2 separate regions of the Homo sapiens genome follow, and region 2 is linked to region 1. The links are contacts of gene promoters, found by promoter capture Hi-C in human tissues and cell types (Jung and others, 2019). All regions are on one chromosome and are shown on one strand. Each heading gives the region's core, a stretch centred on a gene start or on the middle of the fragment in contact. The rest is flanking DNA. Distances are from core to core; before and after follow the strand shown.

Region 1 (7,001 bases), core at 2,096-4,595:
TTAAACTAATTAGCTTTATTTGATACATTAAATTCGTAAAAAGCATTGTCAAATAAGGGATGTTTAACCTTCTTTATATTTGTATGCATATATGTTATAAGTGTTTCAGAAATTGTATTAAATTCCTAGAAATTTTCACTGTCCTTACTGTCCATGATATGTCCTGGTATAAAGTTATGAGTCCTAATTTCCGTTATTGTCTTGTAATGTTGTATGTCACAGAAACAACCAAATTTCCTTGTCAATTGCAGCATAATGAACTCTCATCAGATTTTTAACCATGGCCATTTTATGCATTTTATGTCTTTTGTCATTCAAGACAATTATTGTTTTACTCTGATGCTTTTTTGAAAGCTTTTGCAATCAGCTACAGTCCAAAAATTCTTTGTCTTCAAGGAGATTTTTAGGTAAGACTCTGCCAAGTACTCTGGAGTAAGGTTTCTGACGCCTCTAAGATTGCACTATTAGACTGGACTTTTCCAGAACTCAGGGAGACATTGACGGATTTGTAAACCTGCTAACCCAAGATCAAGTAGAACAAGAATTAATGATGTGGGACTCAATGTGGGGACGATTATAATTTTTCTGAATTTTCTTGGAAATGTTTCTGGTTTTTTAATGTTTTGTTTTCCAGATTTAAAGAACTCTCTGCTTCCGGTTTCTCTTAGGCTACGCATAACGGACAACAATTTGGTAATTACACTTTCATAAACAAAAATGAAGCATTTATATTTTTTGTCCCACCTGATTACTCTAGAATTTGGATATTATGATTTTCAGGACCATACAATTGTTTGCGTAAGTTTAATAAAAATTGATTCTCCTTGCAACAGGACACGATTGGAAACATTGGTCATATTACCAAGGCTTTGACTGGAATGTCATATTTGAGATTGATACATAGAATCAGAGGTGACCAGACAGTTTTTAAAAACTGAGGTTGATTTGATGGAGCTGGAGAAACTGACCTGCTACCTGGCTCACCGGGTCCCCATCCCACAGGTGAGTGAAGAAGGTCATTTGCTGGCAGATCCAGGAACTTTGGGAACCTCGAGACCTTCGGAAGAGAGAAATTCACCCAAGTCTTTAGGTACCACATGTGAAGTCTGATGGTGAGTTTTTGGCTGGGCTTCCTAGCCTCAAAAAGCTTTTAAAAAATCTAATCTGAGATTCCTTGTAAAAAGCTCCAGCAGAGAAAACTCAGTTTATGTGGTCCATTACCATTCTTGCTGCACTTATGTAAATAATCAGACCAAATCTTGTAAGATGTGATATATTTTTGAGACAAGAATAGCATTACTTTGGTTATCTTGATCAAAAAAAGAGGGTGACCATAGAGCCATATTTTATGTTTTAATGAAAAATGGTAGCACACCCTTGTGAGTTATAACCCTGTGTATTCTACTTTTTTTTATCTTTTGATAAACTCCACCTTACTTTCTACTTTGTTATCTACCTGTAAACTGGACTGGATCCTGAAGCCTTTTAGAGTCCTTCAATGTTCCCAGGCTAACATTTCCAGTCTTTCTTCTGCCCTCCTGACTGGGTGTTAGTGAGAACTAAAGCCTGACAACTCAGGCCTTCCGTGGGACCATCTGGAAAGGCTGAAGCTGGACACATCCACGCTCTGCCCCCAGCATAACCATGACTGTGGCTCTGATGGTCATGATGTCACCAAGGACACACCCCCTGCAAACTAGGAAATCCATCCTTGCCCCATCGGCTGAAGATACCTTGAGCCCAAAATCCAGAAATCTTCTCAACAGACTGCCCTCTGGATTCGGAAACTGTGTTTCCAACTATAAATCTTTGTTTTTCTTCTCTTTTTCGTAGACATTCCCCTCATTAAATTCCCGACTACTTGTACCATCCAGCACACATCCTCCACCAGATGAAACATGGACTTATCTTGTTCAAAGAGAAAAGGAATGTCTCTTCTTTCTTGAACAAGAGGAGGGAATGAGAAAGCCTCGCTCCTTGACTTACCTCATGCCAGGCTCCTCTGAGTCTTCTCTTTGACTAGGCCTTGACCCTAGCTTCTGCTTTTGTCTGCTTTTCCCCATGTTTAGTAGGAATCCTGTGAAGTCTTTTAGTGGAAATCCCCTAGTCTTGGCCTGGTCACCCTTGATATCTGATCAAATTCCTCACCCTCCATCTTTGATTATTTTATTGCCTTGGCTTCCTTTCAGGTCTGGCCTCCTGTTTGGCCGAACACAATATACACAATAATTGAACTAGAGGGTGAATACATGGAGGTTCATGATATTCTTCCAAGTTAGAAATTTTCCATAATAAAAAGTTAAAATAAGTAACATATGCAACTCTCTCATGGATGTCTAGATTTTAAAAGGTCTTCAAAGATAGCAGACCTTTGTGTCCTGTTGCAAGGATAATCAATTTTTATTAAACTTATGCAAACAATTGTATGGTCCTGAAAATCATAATATCCAAATTCTAGAGTAATCAGGTGGGACAAAAAATATAAATGCTTCATTTTTGTTTATAAAAGCCCTCTTGGCCTTTGCTGAATCAGTTTAGCAAAGAATTCTCCTACCTTTTAGCAATGTTCATCCACTGACCCACCCTGATCCTTGGCTGCAAATCTCCACTTTCCCTGTATTTGGAGTTGAGCCCACTCTCCACTATTATGAGACACCATGGTAGTAGCCCCCTTTGAATAAAGGCTGCCTGCCCATCTTTAGCAAGCATCACAAATATTTTTTAACGGTATGAGCTGAGATAAAGGCTTTTGGTAATTATGTTAGTCTGATTATGACATTGTAGATAATGCTTTTATCTCTTCGCAAGAAAATGTTTTACATGAGGTGGTAAGGCATCTGGGATGGTGCTAAAATACTCCCCAAACAAGAAAAGTGTGTGTATGTGGTGTGGAGTGTGTATGTGTGTGTGTGTAGAAAAAAACAAAATATGCACAATAATTGAACCTGAGGGTGAATACACGAAGGTTCATGATATTCTTCCCAGTTAGAAATTTTCCATAATAAAAAGTTAAAATAAGTAACATTTGCAACTTTCCTATGGACATCTAGATTTTAAAAAGTCTTCAAAGATAGAAAGACTTTTCAGCTACATTCATTCCCCAAGGAATAAATGGTAAATTCATGTAGGTTGGGAATAAGAGGAACCCATGGGAGAAGAGGCCGCCGCTCCCCACCTGGTTCAGTTCTCTTTCTGCTGAGACATCCCTGTGGGGCCCTACCTGGAATCACGGTTCTCGGCCGGAGCTCAGTTTCTTGCCAACAGCACAGCAGGAGGACAAAGCAGAGGGTCCCGTCTCCTTGGCTCACTGCCATGCTCCCTCCAGCTGAGGGAGAAGGACGTTCTGAAGGTTGACAGTTTCCCATCCTTGGTCTCCAGGACACTGTGGAATGTCAGGACCTGTGACATCACAACCAGGAAGGGAGCTGGGGTCCTGCCCTGGTGGGGAGGTCATGTCCAGGGACCTGTGACATCAGGACCAGGAAGGGAGCTGGCATCTTGCCAGGGGCGGGGGGCAGGGTTTCTGTCCAGAGTCTGTGACTGGGAAGCAGGGAGGAGGCTCACTGGGGTCTTAAGGTAACAGAGATCCTCTCCACTCTTTCTTATTGCCTGTTCTGGTGACTTCCTCTGTCCTGAGCACCCTGAGGACTCAAGGGGTAGATACTAATCAGGACTTAAGGGCCAGTGGCCAAAAGCCAACAAAATCTGCTCCCATGGAAAGAGGCGTATTTGAAGGATGCTGGAGAGGTGGTTGAATTACAGAGCAAGTGCCAGAACCGACAGATCCAGAGGGTCTAATCACCTCTTAAAGGTCCCTTGAAGAACAGAGCCTTGAAGAACAGAGGCCCGTGGCCCCATGTCCCCTCCCACCCTCCCCCACCCTCAAAGTTCCAGGATCATGAAGAACAGGAGACAGATGACCCAGGTTTCAGCCTCCTTTCCCCCACACCTTCTTTCTCAGCATCAGCCCCAATCTTTCCCTGGCAGTGAGACTTTAATCACGAGAGGAGAACATGGCTGCATTTCCATGTTATCATCCTCCCAGCTCTATCTCCTAGACTTTCTAGAGCTTTCTCCATCCGTGCAGTGACAAAACCCCAAAGGAGTCACTCTGGTTGGCTCCCCTGGATCCTATCTCACCCCTGGACTGACTCCTACATCCAGGGCTCAGAGTGGGGCAGCTGGTCTAGACTCGGCCGGTGGTGGGGTCCCAGGTGAACAGCCCTCAGATCCCAGCTCCATGGTGGAGAGGGCTGGTGTGTTTGTCTGTTCCCACACTGCTATATAGAACTTCCCTGAGACTGGGTAATTTATAAAGAAAAGAGATTTAATTGACTCACAGTTCTGCATGGCTGGGGAGGCCTCAGGAAACTTACAATCATGACGGAAGGGGAAGCAGGCACCTTCTTCACAAGGCGGCAGGAGAGAGAGTACATGAAGGAGGAGCTGTTAAACACTTATAAAACCATCAGCTCTAGTGAGAACTCACTTATCATGAGAACAGCATGCAGGAATCCACTCCCATGATCAGATCGCCTCCCACCAAGTCCCTCCCTCAACACGTGGGATTATGAGGATTATAATTCAAGATGATGCTTGGGTGAGGACACAGAGCCAAACCATATCACTGGGGCCCTGGACGCACAAGACTAACAATGCCCCCGAGGTCTGGTCAGGACCCCAAGGATGGCTGACCCACCATGGGTCTCTGGCTCTTTAATTTTTATTGCTTGTATGGGAACCCACAGCACATTTTTGCTCAGGTTTTCCTTTTGATAGATGCAGTGGTAGCCAATCTACCTCAAGGTGTGGGGAGTATATTTCAGATTTTCAGCGTGTCCATAAAGGCACACTAAGCATGGTTGACATTTACAGAAACCCAGTGGGTTCCAAGTCCCACTCTGAGTTAATGAATGGTCCAAGTGAGATGCTTGCTTCTATAACCCAGGCTCTTGCTACTCAGAATGTCATTTTGGGGCCAGCAGCATGGGCCTAAGAGGCTGAATGTACAAACGGACAGCAGCCAGAGCTCCCATGACAGCAGAACCCTGCACTGCTGCCTGTCGAACGACACCCACTGCACCAAGGAGGGATGTCTGGCTAAGGCAGGCCAGGGACTTCCACCTCAAGGCGGAGGATGAGGAATTTGATCAGGGCTGGGGGCGAGGCCTCGTTGAGAAGAGGGGTCAGAGGAGCCTCGCTGATTTGGTCGAGGAAGGAGTCATTCTCAAGGCTGCCCGAAGCTCGGTGACTTGATACAGCCCATGTGTGATTGCTTACAACTTTGTGGGTTGGCTCTGGGGGCTGCTGGCCTAGTGTGGCCTCATGGACATGTCTGAGGCCTTAGCTAGGATGCTGGGGCTTGGGATGGCTGAGGCTTCCCTCCATGTGGTCTCTCGGCCTCTAGCAGGCAGCCTGGGCTTGGTCACAGCAGAAAGGAGAGTAAGCCTCGATGCAAACAAGCCTTTTCTTGCACCACATTTGCTAATGTCTCATCGGCCAAATGAGTCAAACTAATCCCAGATGCAGGAGTGGAGGAACAGATTTGAGCACTAAAATATGGTAGTCAGAGGCCGGGCGCGGTAGCTCACGCCTGTAATCCCAGCACTTTGGGAGGCCGAGGTGGGCGGATCACGAGGTCAGGAGATCAAGACCATCCTGGCTAACACGGTGAAACCCCGTCTCTACTAAAAATACAAAAAAATTAACTGGGTGGGCACCTGTAGTCCCAGCTACTCGGGAGGCTGAGGCAGGAGAATGGCATGAACCTGGGAGGCGGAGCTTGCAGTGAGCGGAGATCGCGCCACTGCACTCCAGCCTGGGTGACAGAGCAAGACTCTGTCTAAAAAATATATATGGTAGTCAGACTGGCTTAGTTCACAGAGCTCTGCCCCCCGCGTTTCATAGATTTGCTTAGCTAATTGGAAAGAAGAGGTTAGAGTGTCTGGTATGTGTTTTTAATCAGTTGCTTTATGAGATTCTAGTTTGAAGAATCTCTCACCAACCCTTGGGAGGTTGATGGCAAATTTATTTTTCTTATTCTTTGCTGTCTTTTAGCAACAATTTTACACATAATTCCCTTTGCATTTGTATTTGCATGCAACATTAAAACCAGAAGGGAATTTAACAAATTAATCTATTTATACCAGTTTCTTTGAATGGGGACTTTAATTCATTTGCATAACTGTCATAGCAGCAGCATATGACTCCTAGAAGTTTTTTCTCCATGGTTGCATTTCAGTTGAGAGATTGTTTCTGTCATATACCAATAGAGATTTGTTTCCTGCATCTTCCAGGGGAAAGAGGAAAGAACTCTTTATGGCTCTTTTAAAATAAACAGGCTTTCCTTATTTTTTTAATTTTTGGAAATGTAAAAATTTTAAAAATTAAAAGAAAAATGCAAGGCTAGGTCCAGTGGCTCACACCTGTTATCCCAGCACTTTGTGAGGCTGAGGTGGGTGGATCGCTTGAGCCTAGGAGTTTGAAACCAGCCTGGGCAACAGAGCAAAACGTCATCTCTACAAAGAATACAAAAATTAGCCAGGCATGGTGGTAAATGTCTGCAGTCCCATCTACTTGGAAGGCTAAGGTAGGAGCATCACCTGACCTTGGGGAGGCAGAGGCTGTAGTGAGCCGTGATTGTGTCACTGCATTCTAGACTGGGTAGCAGATCGAGACTCCATCTCAAAAAAAAAAAAAAAAAAAAAAACTGGGTGCGGTGGCTCACACCTGTAATCCCAGCACTTTAGGAGGCCGAGGCGGGTGGATCACCTGAGGTCAGGAGTTCGAGACCAGCCTGACCAATAAGGTGAAACCCTGTATCTACTAAAAATACGAAAATTAGCTGGGTGTGGTGGCATGCACCTGTAGTCTCAGCTACTTAGAAGGCCGAGGTAGGAGGATCACCTGACCTTGGGGAGACAGAGACTGTAGTGAGCTGTGATTATGCCACTGCACTCTAGCCCGGGCAACAGAGTGAGACCCCATCTCACAAAAACAAA
Region 2 (6,419 bases), core at 1,659-4,158, 69 kb before region 1:
CAGCGGGGGCGGGGCTGAGCACTCTGCTCCTAGGGTGTGGCCATCGTGGCTGAGCACTCTGCTCCCAGGGGGCGGTCAGGCAGGGGTCCGGGATGGAGAGAGGGCGGCCCCATTAGGGGCGATGAGATGCTCTCGAATCTGATTTGATCATCCCCACTCCTGCTCCTCAGCCCCCTGGAGCCGCATGTCTCCTTCAAGGCTGCTGTGATGTGGATTTTCACCTGGCGTCCATGGATAGCCACGTCCAGTGGGGAGGGGTGTGGGAGCAGGAGAGCCCCTCGGGGGCCCCACCCTCCTCCTGCGCACGTTGCTGCTGCTGGAATGGCAGGACACAAGCTGCTCCAGACTCAGTGAGCCCTCATTAGTGAGCTTTCTTCATGGGCTCAGGAAGATCTACGGCCCTTTGTCTACTTTTGAATAACAAGTTATCCCAAATGCAATGGCTTAAAGCACACATTATGGCACAGTTTATGGGGTCGGGAATCCAGGGCCTGTAGCTGGGCACCTCCTGCCCAGGGCTTCTCCTGAGGACAGCAAGCTGTGGCCAGGCCCAGGTCTCATCAGAAGGCTCAGCAGGAGAAGGATCCACTTCCACAGTGGGCTCCCACTGACTGTGGCCAGGTTCCTTGTCACCTGGGCTTTCCAGAGGGAAGCCATGGCCTGACAGCTGCCTGCCTTGGAGTACATAAGAGAGAGAGAAAGCATGAGAGGCCCTGAAATGGAAGCCACAGTTGTTTTGTGGCCTGAGGTTGGAAGCAATATTCCATCATGTTTCCATATTCCACGAGTTCAGTCCGTGCTCAAGGGGAGAGGATTACCGGGGAAGTAGATCCCAGGGGAAGGGGTGGCTGGGCTCATTTACGGCTGCCGACCACCCTGGACTTTGGGAAACAACGCAGCCCGTGTCTGGGTTTGCGGCATGGAGACTGCTGCGCGGTCACCAGGGCGGTTTGGATGGGTGGAGGCGGCAGACGGGACTGACCTGCCCCTGGAGGCTGTGGTGGAGTTACTGGCTGGAGTGGGGGCCCAGTGTGTCTGCGGGGAGGGAAGGCAGGGTGGCTGGGGAGTGCTGGAGTAGGGTCCCAGGGGCTGTGTGTCTGCGGGGAGGGGAGGCAGGGTGGCTGGGGAGTGCTGGCCATGGGCCTTGGGGGTGTCCGGGGAGTGCTGGTCATTGGGGAGTGCTGGACATGGGCCTTGGGTGTGGCCTTGAGCCCGGCCCCTGCAGAGGCGGTGCTCCCTGTGCTGGGCACTGCATGGGGCTGAAATGTCTTCCTGTGGCCACTGGATTCCTTGGACCAGCAGAACAAGCCTGGCCCTCGTGGCAGCTGCAGTTGCTTGTGCACACACACCCTGTGGGTCCTTTGCTGTCTCAGTACATGAGAAACACCCTGGACTCCCCCGTTTCTCGTTGGACGTAACTCTCAGTCCCAGCTGACTGCTGTTCTCCTTAACTCACAGCAGCCCCTCCTGGGACCAGCTCAGAGGTGCCTGGGAGAGGCAGTGCGGCTTCTAGACACCCTTCTTTGTAATCCAGCCACACGGGTTGTATTGGCCACGGAAGCCCCATCCACCGCTGAGGACTGGGCTTCCTGGGCTCGCTGCGGAGCCTCCCCCATCTGCCCCAGACACACCTGCCTCCTGCATGGTGGCCACTCTTGTCGGACTCTGTGCCTGTCCCCACATTTATTCTGTTAAACTTTTCTTTGCAGTACTCAGCCTGTTGTGCTGGGTCACTGTTCAGCTGATTAAAAATGGCAGCTTCCCTCAAAAGCAAATGTTATTGTAGCCCTTGGGTGTCAGAAAAGAGCAGGCAAACCCAACCTAAAGGCTCCTGGGCTTTCTGCAATTGTCCCCGTCGGCGTTCAGTAGGAACACGCATGGAGTGTGGGAGAACTGGATCGTGCAGGTGGGAGTTAAAGGCAAGAGGGGATCCAGGAACGCCGGGAAGCTGCTGCCTGGAGGGGGTGGGATGCTGGCAGGGGCTGAGCCTCCCCAGGACACAGCACCTTCGTCACTCTGACCACTGGGCCCCCTGCCCCACCTCTGACCACTGGACCTGAGTGGGGTGTGTCTCCATTCTGTGCCCATTGGCTCCTCCCTACTCCTCGCCAAGGGAGAGACCAGCCCCTCCCATCACAGGCTCCTTGGAGGGCTGGAATCCAGCTCAGCTTAGTTCAGCAAAAGACCATGAACCCTACTGTGTCCAGGTACAGGATCGAGGTGAGTCTAAACAGAACAGACCCCAGCGTTGAGACAGTGACAGTGAGCCTCTGTGAACACCTGCGGGTCCCCAGCCCAGCTTCTCACTGTGAAATCTTGAGGGGCAGCGGGAAAGTAGGGGCCGACCTTGCTCCAAGTCCCTAACAGGGAGCCCGCTTCCCTGAGGGTGAAGGCAGAGGGGCTCAGCTTGTGCGGGACCAGGGCGGGGAGAGCCCGGGGAGGGAGGGCGGGCGTGGCGGGCAGGGCACGGGGAGCGGACCTTGAGCGGCCGCCTGCCGCCCCCTCCATGGGGGGTGCAAGGGGTGGAAGCTGTGAGTGTGGACACGAGTGAAGCGGACGCAGGCAGGGCAGCCTCAGGCTCCTCGAAGGGGGCTTTCTGGTCAGAGTGGGAGGGGTCTGACATCTGTGGTTCTGTGGTCGCACAGCCTTTACCCAGTATTGAAAAGTAATGTTGCCTCGTGGGGAAACGGAAATGGCCAGCAAGGGTGGGTTCACCTCAGTCCTCCTCACCCGTTCACCTCAGTCTCCGCACCCCCATCCTGCTCTGTTCACCTCAGTCTCCTCACCCCCACCCTGCTCTGTTGTTCCCCTCGGTCTTTGAGACAGGACCAAACGCAGAGGCGGCGCTGGTGCAGCAGGGTCAAGGGGCAGCCTGGGCACCAGCCTCTCAGCCTCCCGGCTAGTCAGCCCCGAGCCGGTCCCAATCTGTCGGTGCTTCCTTGGGTCCTTCTCCAACCAGCGTCCTTTTCAGCAGCAACAGGGAGGCTGCAGAGGCTTCCGGGCTGTGGCAGGCTTGACCAACAGAGCCAGGGGCCAGAGTTGCGAGCGATCATAGCCACTGTCACTGAGAGGGCTTTCTGGGTCGCAGCCGCTGTCGCTGAGGAGGCTTTCTAGATTGTGGCCTCTGTCGCTGAGCGGGCTTTCTAGATGACAGCTGCTGTTGCCGAGGGAGCTTTCTAGATCATAGACACTGTTGCTGAGCGGGCTGTCTGGGTTGTAGCCACTGTCGCCAAATGGGCTGTCTAGATTGTAGTGTCTGTCGCCGAGCAGGCTTTCTAGGTGGTAGCCTCTGTCGCTGAGCGAGCTTTCTAGATTGTAGCCTCTGTCACCGAGGGGGCTTTCTGGATTGCAGCCTCTGTTGCCGAGCGGACTTTCTAGGCTCAGTCACAGGCCACATGCTCTGCGTTCGCTGCCTCCTCTGCTTCTGCCCGCTTCTCCAGGGCTCACCCATCCTGCAGATGAGGGGCCGAGGGCTCAGAGGGAAGGGCCCGCGTACGCTGGGTGCATCGCTGTGTACACAGATCCCGTGGTGAGGCACGGTCCCAGACCCCCGCTTGACCCCAAACCCCAGTCTTTACCCCCACCCAAAACCCCCAAGCCCCATGTCTCCCAAGCCCTTTCACAGTCTGCTCTGCCCACCGCCCCCACTCTCATGGCCTCTGGTGCAGCCACAGGGCCTTGGTAATGGGGGACTGTTGGGGGGCTATCTTTTCGGGGTCTCCTCTGTGGCCCCATCTGCCGGGGAGGAAAGGTCACGGGGGCCTGTGTGGGGCAAGGCAGCATGAAGGGCTTTGCTGTGGGGTCATGGGTCTGGGATGGGCTCTCGGCCACCCTGCGGCCTCCTGTCAGGTGTGCACAGCTGAGCCTGAACTTCCCGGACGAAGGAGGCTGCTATTCCCGGACCCGCCATAGAGAGGCAGTGCAGGACAGGGCTTGAGGTCCCGGCCCAGGCGCTGCAGCTTCTGGGCTCAGCCTGGGCTCTGTCCACTGACAGATCCTGGCTTCTCCGCCAATCCCCCTGTGTTTAGCGGGGTGAGGATGGGAGGGTGAGGTGATGGTCAATCCTCATGTCAACCTGGCTGGGCCATGGCACCCAGATATCTGGACAGACGCCCCTGGGACGCGGCTGTGAACAACTTTTTCTATGAAATTAATGTTAATTCAGGGGACTTTGAGAAAAGTCGTCTGGCTGTGGTGTGGGTGGGCCTCATCCACTCTGCGGAACGTCTTAAGAAAAAGACTGGGGTCCCCACAGAAGAGGGAATCCTGCCTGCAGAGAGCTCTGCACTTGAACGGCAGTGTCGACTCTCTCAGGTTCCCGACCAGTTCCTGAAAATCTCCCCCTCTGTGTGATGTGTGTGTGCGTGTGTGGGTGGTCCCACAGCTTCTGTCTCCTGGAGCCCCTCACCACTGCAGGCGTGGGGCTGCCCTTGGGGCTGGAGGGTGCGTGATGACCACAGGGTGGCGGTCGTGTGTCCTCACTGCCTGGTGCCGTCGCCTTCGGGTGGATGAGACGTGTGGCTCTGGGTCAGCCCCCAGAAGTGGCGGAGGGGTCCGTTGTTCTTATTATTAACTACCTCCTTCACTTCCTCAGACCTACTGTTTTCGACGTCTAAGTCAGCCCTCACCACCACCCCACGAGCTGAAAGATCTTGCCCCTGACTTTGAGACTTGAACCCTGGAACTCCCTTCCTGGAGCCTGCGTTGCCTGGGACAGGGGTGGCCAGGGTGAAATTGGCAGCACCTGGTTGCTCACTCCCGGCCAGCCCTGCCTGCTCCACCCAGCCCCGGGGACGGATTCCTGGTGTTTCGGGGCTGTCTGCCGGCCATCTGCTTGGTAGGGCCGTCGGAATCACCTTTTACAAAGCTCTTCTATCAGTGATTCAGGATCAAGGAGTAAGAGTGCTTTCTGGGTTGAAAAACATCGTGTGGGATCTTTAGCTGGAAAACATTTTATTACAAATATTTTTCAAGTCTATGTGGCCTCTTAAAAAGTCCCATCTTTTTAACACAGTGTTTCCCGGGCCAGCCACGTTTAGCCTTCTAAAGCTTCGTATGCAGCCTCTTACCTAGGAAACGATGCAGCTGTTCAGTCTTTTGCAAGGAGCAAGCCTTTGGTCTAAGAAGCAGCTTCGGGGGTGGAGGAGGTGGTGCTGCTGGGAGACCCGCCCCGGGCACACGTGGAGGTGGGGCTCATGGGAGAGGTGGGGCCTGCAGAGACCCGTCCTGAGGTTTGTGCTCCCAGAGCTGCGCGGGGCAGCGTGGGAGTCACCAGTCACACAGATCGTTTACATTTAAACTCATCCAGATAAAATGAAGAGTTCAGTTCTGCAGTCGCACCTACTGGAAGTGCTCAGGAGCCCACCGTGGTCCCCGTGCAGGGAGGGACTGCAGGGCGGGCTTCTCCTCCTGCTGAGAAAGCTCCCGTGGGTGCAGCTCCCACCTAGGTTTGTAAATAAAGCTTCCTGGGACACAGCCAAGCCCGTGGTTCATGGATCCCCTCTGCTGGCTTTTTTTTTTTTTTTTTGAGATAGAGTCTTCCTCTGTCACCCAGGCTGGAGTGCAGTGGCGTGATCTCAGCTCATTGCAACCTCGGCCTCCCAGGCTCCAGTGGTTCTCCTGCCTCAGCCTCCCGAGTAGCTGGGATTACAGGTTCCCGCCACCACGCCTGGCTAATTTTTTTTTAAAAAATATTTTTAATAGAGACAGGGTTTCACCATGTTGGCCAGGCTGGTCTTGAACTCCTGGCCTCAGGTGAACCACCGCACCCGGCCTCTAGTGCTTTTGTGCTATAATCCGGAGGTTGAGTTGCCACAGGGACCAGAGAGCCTGTGAAGCCTCAAATGCTTTTCATCCCGCCCTTGATGGAGAATCTTTGCCGACCTCTGCCCTCAAGCACAGCTGTGAAATCCAGCTGGGTCTGCCTGCACGGCAGTGTGGCTGCATCACACCTGAGGCCCACTGTAGGTGGTTATGTGGGGCGCTGGGGTGCTGGCCTTGCCATGTTGTGAGTGGCAGGTCTGGGCTGTGCTACGGCAGTGCACACGGTAGGGCTTCTGTGCACAGCAGCAAAGGCGCCAGTCGTGGAGAGCACAACGGGTGGGGGGGTTCGGGCAGGGAGCGGCCTCGGCACAGATGACCTCAAGTGTGCCTGAACGTGCATGTTTCCCATGGGGTGTGTCCAGCCAGCGTGTGAGCAGCGTCTCCTTGGGCAGAGGTGCGTCAGGCCATGGGACTGCCTGGGACCATTTCCTTTGGCTGGGGCACAAGGAGACGGAGGACCATGCCAGAGCAGAAACCATCCCAATGCCCAAGGAAAAGGACCACAGGCTGTTTTCAGAGAGACCAGGAATAGCAGAGGCCTCCTGGCCCACGGTCCTCAGGGGAAAGAGGCCATGCTTTCCAATGGAAATCAGGTT

Evidence for each region. Contacts are between HindIII fragments. The study calls those that stand out against the background at their distance.
Region 2: a fragment that was not itself captured here is called in contact with the fragment with the promoter of SPACA7 in region 1 in 3 of the 25 tissues and cell types used here (dorsolateral prefrontal cortex, spleen and thymus).

The regions. Positions count from the first base shown.
Region 1 is chr13:112,372,699-112,379,699 of GRCh38, reverse strand. SPACA7 (sperm acrosome associated 7) reads right to left here and starts at 3,345. Exons shown (of 7, transcript NM_145248.5): 1 at 3,221-3,345. The coding sequence starts at 3,314. LOC105370373 (a long non-coding RNA gene) reads left to right here and starts at 3,422. Exons shown (of 3, transcript XR_944295.3): 1 at 3,422-3,576. It overlaps LOC105370372 (a long non-coding RNA gene), which reads left to right. Exons shown (of 5, transcript XR_944294.2): 4 at 635-693; 5 at 834-962. RefSeq lists an enhancer at 694-1,893. The HindIII fragment of the contact is 14,702 bases long and covers 752-7,001 here.
Region 2 is chr13:112,441,661-112,448,079 of GRCh38, reverse strand. All of the region lies in intron 2 of LOC105370372 (a long non-coding RNA gene), which reads left to right. Among named protein-coding and RNA genes, the nearest start is that of SPACA7, 69 kb to the right of the region's middle. The HindIII fragment of the contact is 6,990 bases long and covers 1-6,403 here.